Linked DNA regions of Homo sapiens: regions 2, 3 and 4 are each linked to region 1. The links are contacts of gene promoters, found by promoter capture Hi-C in blood cells and fetal thymus (Javierre and others, 2016). All regions are on one chromosome and are shown on one strand. Each heading gives the region's core, a stretch centred on a gene start or on the middle of the fragment in contact. The rest is flanking DNA. Distances are from core to core; before and after follow the strand shown. Region 1 holds the start of LINC02991 (long intergenic non-protein coding RNA 2991). Region 2 overlaps HDAC4 (histone deacetylase 4). Region 3 overlaps HDAC4 (histone deacetylase 4). Region 4 has its middle 14 kb from the start of HDAC4-AS1.

Evidence for each region. The method cuts DNA at HindIII sites, captures the fragments that hold promoters and counts their contacts. A CHiCAGO score of 5 or more calls a contact.
Region 2: a fragment that was not itself captured here is called in contact with the fragment with the promoter of LINC02991 in region 1 in 1 of 17 cell types (M0 macrophages); the score reaches 5.7 in M0 macrophages.
Region 3: a contact is called between a fragment that was not itself captured here and the fragment with the promoter of LINC02991 in region 1, in 1 of 17 cell types (neutrophils). The highest score is 5.1, in neutrophils.
Region 4: a fragment that was not itself captured here is called in contact with the fragment with the promoter of LINC02991 in region 1 in 1 of 17 cell types (neutrophils); the score reaches 5.4 in neutrophils.

The regions. Positions count from the first base shown.
Region 1 is chr2:239,576,618-239,580,171 of GRCh38, reverse strand. LINC02991 (long intergenic non-protein coding RNA 2991) reads right to left here and starts at 1,871. Exons shown (of 2, transcript NR_172921.1): 1 at 1,248-1,871. The HindIII fragment of the contact is 7,503 bases long and covers 1-3,554 here.
Region 2 is chr2:239,394,146-239,397,569 of GRCh38, reverse strand. The region is part of intron 1 of HDAC4 (histone deacetylase 4); the gene reads left to right. Among named protein-coding and RNA genes, the nearest start is that of HDAC4, 5.2 kb to the left of the region's middle. The HindIII fragment of the contact is 2,450 bases long and covers 931-3,380 here.
Region 3 is chr2:239,334,808-239,337,994 of GRCh38, reverse strand. The region is part of intron 2 of HDAC4 (histone deacetylase 4); the gene reads left to right. Among named protein-coding and RNA genes, the nearest start is that of MIR2467, 15 kb to the left of the region's middle. The HindIII fragment of the contact is 2,673 bases long and covers 239-2,911 here.
Region 4 is chr2:239,413,387-239,416,503 of GRCh38, reverse strand. No RefSeq gene overlaps it. Among named protein-coding and RNA genes, the nearest start is that of HDAC4-AS1, 14 kb to the right of the region's middle. The HindIII fragment of the contact is 1,876 bases long and covers 744-2,619 here.

The DNA.
Region 1 (3,554 bases), core at 622-3,121:
CAGAACTGGGAGACAAAGCACAGACATTGAAGTCCCCCTGTGCACAGCCCTCCCAGGCTGGAGTGCAGAGAGCAGTGCAGGGCAGCTGGTCTGCTCTGCCTCCTGTCCTGACACGGCCACCTGCGTCCTGCACCTTCCTGGTTCTCTAAGGCACACAAGAGCAGCTGCCTCAGGGTGAAACCTCTGCCCACAGACCTAAAGGAGGAACTTTAGTAAAAGCAGCAAATAGGCCTTTCTCCACTGATAGGGTTTGGCTGTGTCCCCACCCAAATCTCACCTTGAATTGTAATAATCCCCAGATGTCAAGGGCGGAGCCAGGTGGAGATAATTGAATCATGGGGGCATTTTCCCCCATACTGTTCTCATGGTCGTGAGTTAGTTTCTTGAGATCTGATGGTTTTATAAAGGGGAGTTCCCCTCCACAAACGCTCTTGCCTGCCACCATGTAAGACGTGACTCTGCTCCTCATTCACTTTCTGCCATGATTGAGAGGCCTCCCCAGCCATGTGGTAATGTGAGCCCATTAAACCTCTTTCCTTTATAAATTACCCAGTCTTGGGTATGTTTTCATTAGTAGTGTGAAAACAGACTAATATACATCCACCTAGGGTTTAAAAGGCCTGTACAGCAGAGCCTTCATCCTCTTTAACCAAATGCTAGCCTTAGACACACCTGCCTCTGAAAAGAGGCCTCTGCACTGCTGGGCTCCATCTGGCTGCAGGGGCCCTGACAGGGTGGCCACCGGAGCAAGGTCACCAGGATAGGCATACGTCAGGGCTTCCTTAAGGCCCAGCCTGGCCCCTCGTCCCTCTGCAGAGGGCGGCACATCTTTGGTCAGTGCCTGCTGCACACTTCCTGCTTCCCTGGAATACCCCTCGCCTGTGGGCGAAGCCTTGATCAGCAAGGTTCAAGGTCAGGCATGGCATGGCCTGAGCTCAAGGTCTCATGCCCGGGCCACAGGGGTCCAGGCCTCACCCAGGAGAACCATTGCAGACCTCAAGGTCAAACGTGCTGTTTGGAATCTAAGCCGAAAGGCCCAAAGCCACACGTCGCGCCCAGTGAAGCCCTCTCACTGTGTGTTCTGCCCTCCTCACCCCATCACCTCTTATTTCTCAAAGTTCCTCACTCCAGGAACTGAGGGCCTTTGAGAGTGCTTAATACTAAGAGCACCTCTTCCCCATGCAGGTTCAGAACAAGTTGGACATGAGATAAAGAATAAAACACATAGAACTCAAATTATTACTTACTCCTAACAAATGCCAAGGTGAAAGTCTTAGCTTTGTGTGGGGGCCAAATAACCTTCTTAATTGAACCCAGAGTAAGAGCCTCTGACTCAGGGGTGCAGGGCTGGACCAGGGCAGACATCCTAGCACCAGCACACACGGTGGGGCAGGAACCCTCAAGGGAACAGCGTCTCTGCAATCGGACGGCATCCAAGAGAAGCAGGTACGATGGTGGATTCAGTGAAGCAGACGCCCTCGCAATGTGGATGGGCCTCATCCAACCCATTGAAGACCTGAGTAGAACACAAAGGTGGAGAGAGAACCCTCCCTCTGCCTGCCTGCTGGAGCTGGAACACTGACCTTCTCTTGCTCTCAGGCTGGAAGTGTGCTGTCGTCGGCGTGCCTGGTTCTCGGGCCTCCAGGCTCTGGCTAGGGCTGCAGCACAGACTCTCCTGCCTTTCCAGCTTGCAGACGACAGGGTGTAGGACCCCTCAGCCTCTGTAATCATGCGAGCCCATTCCATTTCTTATAGCAATGCATCTCTAACTCCATTTCTCTGGAGAACCTTGACTAATACGGGAGAGAAGGAGGAGGGTCTGGGCCTTACAAGGCCCTGGCTCCCGTCAGCACACAGCCCAAGACAGTGACGGGATTTAGCTCAAGGCCAGGGGTACTTAGGGAAAATCCCGATTTCTGGAAATCTGAGAAATTAGAGATTTATCCCCATTTTCTACCCCCAACTGCATCATGAAATAAACATTTCGTTTCTACAAACGGGAACTCTGAATTCCAAGGCCGCATCCACCCGCCCCTTGGTGGGTTGCTCGTGTGTCTGGCTGGGCGGTGGCACAGGGGGATTTCGCAAGGCCTCAAAGCCCAGGCTCCCAGCTCCGCTCCTCCTACCCTTCATAGCCCGAGTGCCTGTGCTGGGATTTCAGGGCCTTTCTCCTACCTCTGAGATCCTTTGTCACTTTTCCAAGGAGATGGAAGTCTGGAATGAGGTGAGCCATGTCTCCATGGAGCACACTTTGTAGATGGAAACTTCTTTCTCCAGTGAAGACTCTGAGATGGACCAGGAGGAGAGCATCATGACCCTCAAGGAGAAATTGGCAGAATCTATCTGTGTAGGTCACAGCCTTGGTCCAGGGACCTGAGGGAGCCTAGTGGCCCCTGGAGGCATCACCTGGAGGTTTTCATGTAAGTTAATGTGACTGGATGGGGGTGTGGCCCCTGGTCACCACCCAGCACAAGTGACACAGCCAGCGCGGAGACATCAGCTGCCTCTCTCCACGTCCCTTCAGGCCCATGTCACAGCTGCACTGGGGAAACTGAGGCAGCTTAGCAGCCTCCATGATGCTGGTGGAGCTGGAGGAGGCCTGACTCTTCCAGAGAACGCCCTGCAGAGCCACAGGGCATGTGTAGCATCTGGGCGGCACCTGGCTCTCTCCCTGCTCCCCTGGGACTTCCAGCGAGCTCTCTTCCTGCCTTCGGAGCCATCTCAGTGCTCACAGCTCACAGTGACATTGGGAGGGGTCCCTATGCCTGTGAAGTGTTGGCGGGAGGAGAAAAACATCTGTGTTTAGCATAGCATAAAAAATCTCATTTTACAGTAGAAAAGTCTATCCCATGACGCAGACACAACAAACATATAAAACCCGCTTCCTGCTGCAGCTTCAAGGAGGACAATCTGGAGCTCTCTTAGGCGACCTTCCAGGAATCCCTTGCTCATCCTTAAAAATAAATCTTTCCTGTTGCTTCCCCAGTCTCTACACCCAAACACCAATCTTAGTGGCCCAACAAAGATCTTGAAGTATATCTACATAGGTATTAGCAAAACTTTATTTAAACAAGATATTCAGTGGATAATCAGGCATCCTCACTTTACATGCATGAGGACCAGCATGTACACAAAATGGTGCATTTCCAACCCCTGCAGGACCAAAGTCAAGTTATGGACAAGGGGTGGCATGATGTAAGGCAGGCGGCTGAGCTTTGGACTTGGAGGTCAGAGACCTAAGATTTGGAGTAGACACATGGGGTAGCGCTGGCTGCCTTTGAGAAATGACGCTCTGGCCATTCTTGAGTTTGTATTTTCCTTCACCAACTTTCCCGGAAGCACGGAGACACCGGGTTCACCCTTCCTGCTTGTGATCATGAGACACAAGGGGCAGGACAATTGTCTGATCCATTTGTATCGAGTGTGATTACCCCGTAGCAGAAGCCATCAGTGCTCTGCCCAGAGCCCCCAGGTCCCTGTGAGGGGTTCTGAGCCCCTTCCCCAACTTCCCTGTGCTTTTGCTGAGAATACCCCACACCACTGACCTTGGACCA
Region 2 (3,424 bases), core at 906-3,405, 180 kb after region 1:
GGTCAGGGTCCTACATGTCCCCTTGCTGTGGCCTTGCTGACACACCTCCTACTCACTTCCTGGAAGGAAGGTCGGGGTCCTGCATAGATTGCCCCCACCGTGACTTCCTGTATCACTGTCGGGGGATGAGGATGTATCCTGGAGCAAGGAGATGATGCCACGAGCAGCTGTCACGTGCTCCCGTAGCTGACGCCAGATGAGCACCTGCTTGGGGCTCGTGCTGTTTCATGCACTCACCATGTAGGTGTCAGCACAGTCCTGCAGGTGGGCTCTACCTCTGGAGGAACTGGGGGTAGAATGAAATGGACCATGTGCCACCCCCTGCATCTCCAGTCCCAAAGGCCAGTTCCTCTCCGTGCCTCTGCTTCTAGGCTGGTGGTGACCTTGAAGCTGAAGTTCAGCTTGTCGAGGTGCTTGGGCGAACACAGCCTCTTAGAGAAGAGGACGATTTGGAATACCTTTCTAGTTCAGTGTCGTTAGACTTTCTAGTGCTGTGTTGACTGTTCTTGGCGCTGTTACAGGCGCGTTTCATAGGTCTGGGCAGTACTTCTGGCTTTCTCATGCTGTCTTATGTCACGTGTGGGACTGCAGAACTAGAAGACATCATGTTCTTCTCCTGCAAAGTCCCCAGGACGCCTGGAGGCAGGTGGGGGTGACGGAAGGGAGCTAATGCTCCAAGTCCACTTCAGCCGGAGCAGCTTTTAGTGTTTGTTGTTCGGTCTGTTGATTACCTTGGAAGATTTTATTGGAAGAAAGCATTTGAGGACCAAGTTAATCTACTCTTTCAATACCAACCCAGAAACCTTAAAGAAAATCTTGACAGATTTAATAGGATAAGAGTTTTTTAAAAAATCTCTTTGGCAAAAGACTCCGTCAGCCGGGCTAAGAGACGAGAGAGAAAATACATACCACATTATGCCTGTGTAAGCTTAACAGTCAATATATAAAGAGCTTTTACAGACCAATAAGGAGAGCATGAGATCACCATTGCAAGATGAGCAGAACGTATGAACATTGAATCATTGTGCCAGTGATGAAAGGTTAGCATTACTAATCAATTCAGTGTGAAGGAGATTCCCTTTATGCCTATCATATTGGCGAGTTTGATGATACCTGTTGCTGGTCATAATAATAATTTCTATTTTGTAAGGTTTTTGCAAAGTTTAAGTTAATGTATGGAAATTTCCTTGAATAGGGCCTGGCATGTAGTAAGCATGATATAAATGTTGGCTGTTATTTATTATCATTTGCTCTCTGGAGAGACCCATATGTATTATTATATAAAATATAATAGGGCTGGGCGAGGTACCTTATGCCTGTAATCCCAGAACTTTGGGAGGCCAAGGTGAGAGGATCACTTGAGCCCAGGAGTTCAAGACCAGCCTGGGCAACATAGTGAGACCCTCATCTCTACAAAAAAAAAAAAAAAATCAGGCATGACGTCGTGTGCCTGTAGTCCCCATTACTTGGGAGGCTGTGGCAGGAGAATCACGTGAGCCTGGAAAGTCAAGGTTGCAGTGAGGTGTGATTTTGCCACTGCACTTCAGCCTGAGTGACACAGCGAGACCCTGGGCTGTCCCCCCCAAAAAAGTTTATATATGTAATGTATAAACATAAAATAGTGATTACCGAATTGCTCTCTAGAAAAGTCTTAAGTGTCAAAATCTTAAATGCCATTCTCCTTGTCCCCACAGTTCTACATTTTGAAATCTATTCTAAGGAAAGAAGATAAGTGTGTAGATATCCAGACGTGTGTGGAGGTCGGGGCTGCATTATTTATAAAAGGAGTACTTGTTAAACCTGCTGGCATTTCTGCACTGTGGCATCCTCCATGTGTAGACAGGCAGAAGTGTGCAGTGTAAGAGGGAAAGGCGGGGTCTGGAGCAGTCCCCGGGCCACTCCTGGTTTTAAGTACATGGGTCTCTAAGGTAACCATCAGAGGTGAGGAGACGGGGTACACTTTTCTTTTATACATGGTGGTATTGTAGAGATTCTTTTGGTAAGCGTGTATTACTTTTTTACAGTAGTAATTTGAAAACATTTAGATATCTTCATTGGAAAGAAAAGTACTCTTTAAGTCCTTGGCAAGTTGATAAATATGCTTTGCAATAGAAGAATTTAGGGGCATTTGTTTTTCTAACTCACATGTAAGCTCTTCAAGGTGGGGACTGACCCTCGGGGTCTGAGCGGGCTCTGCTACAGCCCATCCTACAAACAGTCTCCCAGGTTTCCACCAGAAGCAGGTTTGTACCTCTCATTCCCTTGCTTGAAACCCTGGCATGACTTTCCTGTATTCTTAGGATCCTAAGGTCTCAGGGCCCTGGAAGGCCTGCCTGATCCTGGCCTCTGTTTTACCAGCCTCATCTGATAGCACTTGCTGTGTTTGTGGAGTTTCAGCTGCCACCTGCTTTACTTTCTAGCTCTCTCTAAGTCCCCTTTGACCTCGGGGCCTTTGCACACACTGTTCCCCTTCCTTGGAATGGCCTCCCTTTACCTTCCTCTTCTCCAGCCCCTCAGTTCATGCTCATCCTCTCATCCTTTGATCCCCTGTTAAACTTAGCCTAATAGCTTTTTTCCTCCTTTCTAACAGCATCCCATTGTGCAATTTCAGGAAGGAGCTCATTGTGACCTTAGTTGTTTAATGCCACCTTTTCTACTAGCTGGGGCTCTGTAGGATTGAGGGGCCCTGAGGGCCTCATGCCTGCTCTGTACCCTGTGCTTGGCAGTGTAGGTGCTCGAAGAATGAAAGAAAATGAATGAGTGAATGAATGAATGGATGAGTAGGTAGCCCAGTGAATGGCACAATGCGGGCCTTGGGTGGGAGAGCTGGGGTGAGGCCCCACCTCTGGCCTGGCCCCTCTGCGGGGTTCTTGCCAGTGCTCTGGAATTGCCTGTTTCCTGACACCCCCTGCCCCCATCTGGGAACTTCTTGGTCCTGATTTTGGAGATTACATGCTCCTAAGGAGATGTCATAAATGCAAGTGGAGGGAATTCTGTGATGCAGAAAGGAATGGGAGGGAGAAGGGCCTTCAACACAGCTGTCGAGTGGCAAATGCGACTGTTGTGCCAAGGCCAAGGCAGGTGTGTGCAGCTTGTTCTCCAGCCGCTTCGCCCAGGGCCCCGGCGTGTGAGGAGGCGAGTGGTGCTTTTATGAAGAAGTTTTTCTCTGCTTGTTTTAAATTAGAATTAATGACATTATTTAATCACTTCTTATTTAGCGTCATAATTTTAATATGATACATTAATATGTTTGTGTACATAAACATTTTGGAGTCTGCTCTGTTTAAAAATGTGAGTGTTGGGCTTTGTGAGTTTACTGTTGTTTATGAAGTACTCCGTCTGTGTGAGTCAAGTGCTTTTGCTGGATTGATGTTTAAGCTTGAAACAATAAATCAGTTCTTAGGACCTGAAAGTCTGAACCAGC
Region 3 (3,187 bases), core at 326-2,825, 240 kb after region 1:
TGGCTTTCCTGGGATTTCCAGACCAGATCCACCTCTTTCTCCCCTTTTTCTTTGTCTTTCTGCCCCCGAAGAGATAGCAGTGTACAAAAACAAGCCAGCATTTCTTGTTCTCTTGCTATTTGTAATTGTCCCGAGCCTGGACTGGGTCCAGTCCGCTCATTTATTCTGCCAGGGCCCAGTCTGCAGATCTCAGCCGAAGCCGGTTGTCCTGCCTGGCTCGCTCTGTTCCTGGAAAGCTTTGTCACGCACAGCCAGGGGCCACTTTGGGTGCATCCTGTCTCCCCCGTCGCCGTATGTTTGGGAGCAGAAGTTGGCTCTGGTCAGATATGTGGATGTTAATTTATCCTCATTCTTGGAAGCAAGTTGGGAGCTCAGAGGAAAGGAAGAGCCACAAAATGTCAAACCCAGCAGCGGCCATCTGACTCGGTTGCTCATCGCTATAATATGTGATTAAGATGGAAGTGTTTGATTTCCTCGCTTGCCGGATTTAGGCCTCATTTTGCTTACTCCCGTGAGTCCTGATTTCTTCCTGTTAGAGAGAGGAAGTTTGCAGCGATAACCGACTTGCAGTGGGGTTTTCTGTGAATGGAGCTTGTATTGGTGCGATGTGTGGCGTGGGAGTCCCCACCGGTTAGTGGCTTATGCAGGGTGTGAGTTTCTCTCAAAGTGGACGTTTTCTGCCTTCCCGGAGCCAAAACGTTTATTTCGCCGGTGAGTACAGCTGAGTCTCACGTGCATCTGACAGCAGTGTCTCCGAGCCTTGCCATTTCCTCCACTCCCTCCCTTGGAGCCGTTTGTGTGACAACCTGCTGTTCAGTAAAACCAGTTTAGTGGAGTGGGTGTGTGTTAATTCTAGTCCATGTGTTTAAAAATCAATTCATATGATGAGAATGGCACTTTCCCCCGTGGTCTTCCTCTCAGTAACCCATAGCCCCAGTCCAACCATGGGAAAAACATCAGACAAATTCCAGTAGACACCCTTCCTACAGTCTACTCTTGCCAGGCCCACTCGATATGCCAAGGTCATCAGAAACAAGCATCCTTTGAGAAACTGTCACCACCAGGAGGGATCTCAGGACATGCGACACCTAAGTGTGATGTGGAATTCCTGGATGGGATCCTGGATGGATCTTGGAATACAGTAAAAGACATTAGTGGGAAACTTCAGGAAATCCTAAACTCTAGAATTTTAGTTAATGACAGTAATGTCAGTATTGGTTCCCAATTGTGACTAACATACCGTAGTAAGGTAGGATGCTAATAATCGCGGGGAATGTGCAGGTGGTATTGGTAGGGTATATGGCAGCTCTCTCTACTGTCTACTCAAGTTTTAATAAAATATGTCAAGAATTTTGAGTTCACAAAATGAAGTACATTTATAGATACTCTCTTTTGCTTAATGTTTGTTCATGAATGGCTGTATACTGTAGTTACTTTAGCACCTAGCTTTTACAGTTTTTCCTTTGGGGACTCTTTTTTTTATGGTTGTGCATGGATGTGGTAGAGTAACTTAACAAGTCATTGTTGGTGGACAGGGAGTTTGTTTTCAGCCTTTCCATTGTTGTTATTATAAACATGTAGCCTTGAAGACCGCCAATGTCTAAGTGAACTTTTTAACTGAAGTATCACAGGCATCCAGGAAAGTGCAAGAATCATGACTGCTTAGCTTGATGAACTCTCCCAAAAGGAAGATGCCTGTAACTGCTACCCAGATTGTGAAATGGGACATCCCAACACCCAGAAGCCCCGTATATGTCCTCTCTCAGTTACTGTACCCTCACTCTCACACCCTCTAGATACCACTTCTCTAGCTTCTAACATGAGTTTCTCCTGGTTTTGAACGTCATATAAATCACGTAATACTTATTCTTATTGTCTGGATTATTTCACTTGACAATATGTTAGATTTATTGATATTGTGGCTTATAGTAGTAGTTTCTTCATTTAATGGGTATATAATATTTCATTGTATGAACATATCACAAATTATTTATTGGTTCAATTGCTGATGACATTTTGGTGGTTTCCAGTTTGGAATTATGTATAATGCTACTGTAACATTCTTGTATATTTCAATTGGTTCATATAAGTATGCAATTCTTTTGATAAGGTGTATGTGTGCCAAACAGTTCTTCAAATTGATTGTACCAATTTACACTCTGACCTATAGAATGTTGCTCTGTCCTTGCCAATACATGGTACTGTAATTCTTTTTCATTTTAACTATTGTAGTTTCATTTGTATTTCCCAGATTACTAAAAATGTTGAATACCTTTTCATACGTTTATTGACCAACTAGATGTCATCTTTGGTGGAGAAGTTTCTATTCATTTAAGAAATTGGTTTGTCTTTATTTTTCTTACTGAGTTGTAGGAGCTATTTCTGTACACTGGCTATGAATGAGCTTTTTGTTGTTTGTTGCTATTTTCTATGTGTGTGCTGCGTTTTCCCTTTCTTAATGGTGTTTTTTTTTTTTTTTTTTTTTTGCTGAACAGATGCTCTTAATTTTAATAGTCCAATTTAATAGTTTTATCTATGCCTATTTGAAGATATTCTATATTATTTTTGATAAACTTCATTGTTCTATCACTCATTTAGATCTGTGATCCACTGGGAATTTTTTTTTTTTTATGTGTGAGGTAGGGATTGAGAGTTACTTTTCCGTTTGGAAATTCAGTTGGCCTAACAGTATTTATTTAAAAGAGTCATCCTTTCTTCTCTGCTATCCAATGCAACTTTGTCATAAGTGAAATAAATTATATAAATGGATCTGTTTTTGCACTTTATTCTAGTTCATTGGTCTGTTTGCATATCTGTGTACCAGTGCAACACTGTCTTAACTAATAGATTTGCAGTTAACCATAGTATCTAATAATGTAGGTCTTCCAACTTTTTAAAACTTTTCAAAGCTTGTTTTGGTTCTTTTTAGCCCTTTGCATTTCCATATGGATTTTTTTTTTTTTTTTTTTTGAGATGGAGTCTTGCTCTGTCTTCCAGGCTGGAGTGCAGTGGCACGATCTTGGCTCACTGCAAGCTCCGCCTCCCAGGTTCACGCCATTCTCCTGCCTTAGCCTCCCCAGCAGCTGGGACTACAGGTGCACGCCACCATGCCCAGCTAATTTTTTTGTATTTTTTAGTAGAGGGGGGTGTTTCACCGTGTTAGCCAGGATGGTCTTGATCTCCTGAC
Region 4 (3,117 bases), core at 432-2,931, 160 kb after region 1:
CCACCCCCATGATTCAATTACCTCCCATGGGTCCCTCCCACAACACATGGAAATTGTGGGCGGTATAATTCAAGATGAGATTTGGGTGGGGACACAGCCAAACCATATCACTGGATCATATATATGGTAGGTGGATGTTTACCAATGGGAAAAAACTGCAACGCAACAAGACGCCTTTTTTTTGCATTGGCTGCACCACTTTGCATTCCCATCAGCCAGACGTGAGAGTTGCAGTTGTTCTGCATCCCCATCAGCCTCATAGTCTCCACTGTGTTTTCTTTCAGCCCAGCAGATAGATGTGAAGTGGCAGCGCATTGTGGTTTGAATTTGCATTTCCCCAATGGCTAATGATATTGAACAGTGATGTCAAATTTATTAATATTTTCCTTCATGGCTTCTGGCTTCTGTGTGCTATGAAAGAAATCTTTTCATGGGACATAAAACTATTCCTACCCCATTTCCTTCTAAGACTCTGAAGTTTTACTTTTTCGTATATAGACTATTTTTCTGCCAAGTTTATGTGTTTGATGTGAAATGTAATTTTATTTTTCTTTTGTTTAATATGGAGAACCCATTGTCCAAGTATCAATGATTTAGTCGTCTTTCTCCTCTGCTCCGTAATGCAATCTCTGTCATAGATCAAGTTTCCATACATACATGTGCTGCTGCCTGGACCCTGTTCTGTTATGCCGCTGTATTTGTCTATTCCTGTGCCAAGGCCATGTGGCACAATTCCTAAAGCTTAGAATAGATCTTGACATTTGGGTAAAACACCTCCCCTCCACCACTGTGTTATTTATCAAAATTGCCTTGCCTATTCTCAGCTCTTTGCTATTTAATGATTTTCAGAAGTGATTTGCCAAAAATTGCATTGAGGTTTTAAAATGCATTGAAGAGAATCATCATTTTTTACAATTTTCAGCTTTTCCATCCATGGATATGGTATTCATTTAATTGAATCCGAGATGCCATCAAGTAGAAGATGCACCATTATTTTATGTGCTATGAGGAAACAGAAAGTGCTGCCAATTGATCTACGACACGAAACTATGACACAGTTAATTTTAAGACATATTTGATTTCTGAGATGTTAAAAATGTGAAAAAATGCATGTTTCAGAATTGATGAAATTTGGTGTATACCATCAGTTATTTGGTTCCGTTTAAAATATATTTCAGTAAGTTTCACAACTGTTTCCACGAATATCTTTTACAAGTTTTGTTAGGTCTATCCCTAGGCAGCATGAAGTTTTTGCACTGTAAATGGTGTCTTTAGAATTCTAAGTGTTTCTGTGTATAGAAATACGATGAATTTTGATGTATGGATCTTATGTCTGGAAAACTTCCTGAGCTTCCCTATCAGTTCAAATAGTTTGCCTATAGATTCTCTTGATGTCATCTTTTTGCCATTGATTTCTAGCCCTATCACAGTTTGGTAAGAGAATATATTCTGTATGATATCAATTCTTTGAAATGTGTTGAGATTGGCCTTCTGGCCTAGTGTGTAGCCTTAGCCAGTGTTTATATGTTCCATGAATGCCTGAAAAAAAAATGTGCTTCCTCATTTAGGAGTGTAGGATTCTTTTGATATGGGGACATTAGTATAACCATGTTAATTAATTCAAATCTTGTATATATCAGTTATCAAATGAGTAGTATTCTACAATATTATGGATTTATAAATTTCTCCTTAGAATTTTTAAAATTTTTTCTTTATATTATTTTGGGGCTAAATCACTAAATGCAAAAAGTTTAAATTGATTTATCTTCCTGGTGAATTGTCCCTCTTACCCTTATGCAGTGGCCACCTTTATCTCCAAAAATGTTTTCTTTCCTCTGGGTCAATTTTGACTGACATTATAACAACAGATACTTCTTGTGATTTGTGTTGGCTAAGAACATCATTTTTTTTTTGCCCCGCTCAGACTATTAGCTTTGCAGAATTTTCATGTTTCATGCTATCGCTTGTAAAAAAAAAAAAAAATAGGGAGATGGCTTTTATTTTTAAGCCCAACCTGGCAGTCTGTCTTTAACTGGCAAATTTAGTCCATTTACATTCATTGTGAATACTGATATATTTGGACATATTTCCCAGTTTCACTTTTGGTTTTACCCTACTCTTTCTATGCCTCTTTTGTTTTCCCCCATTTGGATTGATTGATCTTCCCACCTCTTTTTCTCCTTTCTTTTTTTCTGTCCCCTCTGCTGCTTTGGAAGTTATATATTTTATTTCAAGTGGTTTAGTGTTTTCTTTAAAAATTTGAACAAACATTTTTTGCTTAACAAAATACAAATGTATACTTCCTACCAACACTAGGAATGCAGAGAGCTTCAACTCCAACGTCCCCTCATGCCTTATAAGCTATATTATTGTATGCCAGACACCACCCATCACCTTATCTTATATCATGTATGCTATAGCTCATGCCTGCTTAGATTTACTCACACAATGTCTTTGCACTCCATTTTCTTGCAACTAATTTACTGTCTTGGCCAGGGCAGGGCTCCAGAGAGCAGGGAGGCCAATTCAAGGGCTTACACTGGGCCTTTCCTATCATGATACCTGTTGCCCAAGAGGTGAAGAGGCTCTGCAATCTACTAAATACATCCATCCTAAGCTTAAACTAATGTTTATATATCAAAATAATTTTGGCCGGATGTGGTGGCTCATGCCTGTAATCCCAGCACTTTGGGAGGCCGAGGCAGGCGGATCACGCGAGGTCAGGAGTTTGATAACAGCCTGGCCAACATGGTGAAATCTTGTCTCTACTAAAAGTTACAAAAATTAGCTGTGCGTGGTGATGTGTGCCTGTAGTCCCAACTACTTGGGAGGCTGAGTCAGGAGAATCTCTTGAACCCAGGAAGCGGAGGTTGCAGTGAGCAGAGATTGTGCCACTGCACTCCAGCCTGGGTGAAAGAGTGAGACTCTGTCTCGAAAAATAATAATAATAATAATAATTTTGCACTCCTAAATTAGGAAACACGTTCTTTTCAGGCATACATGAAACATTGACAAACACCGGCTATGACCACACATCAGGTCACAAAACAAATATTAACATATACCAGTGAATCAGTACCACATATAGTCAAGGGCTGGAGAAGTGAGCACAGGGAG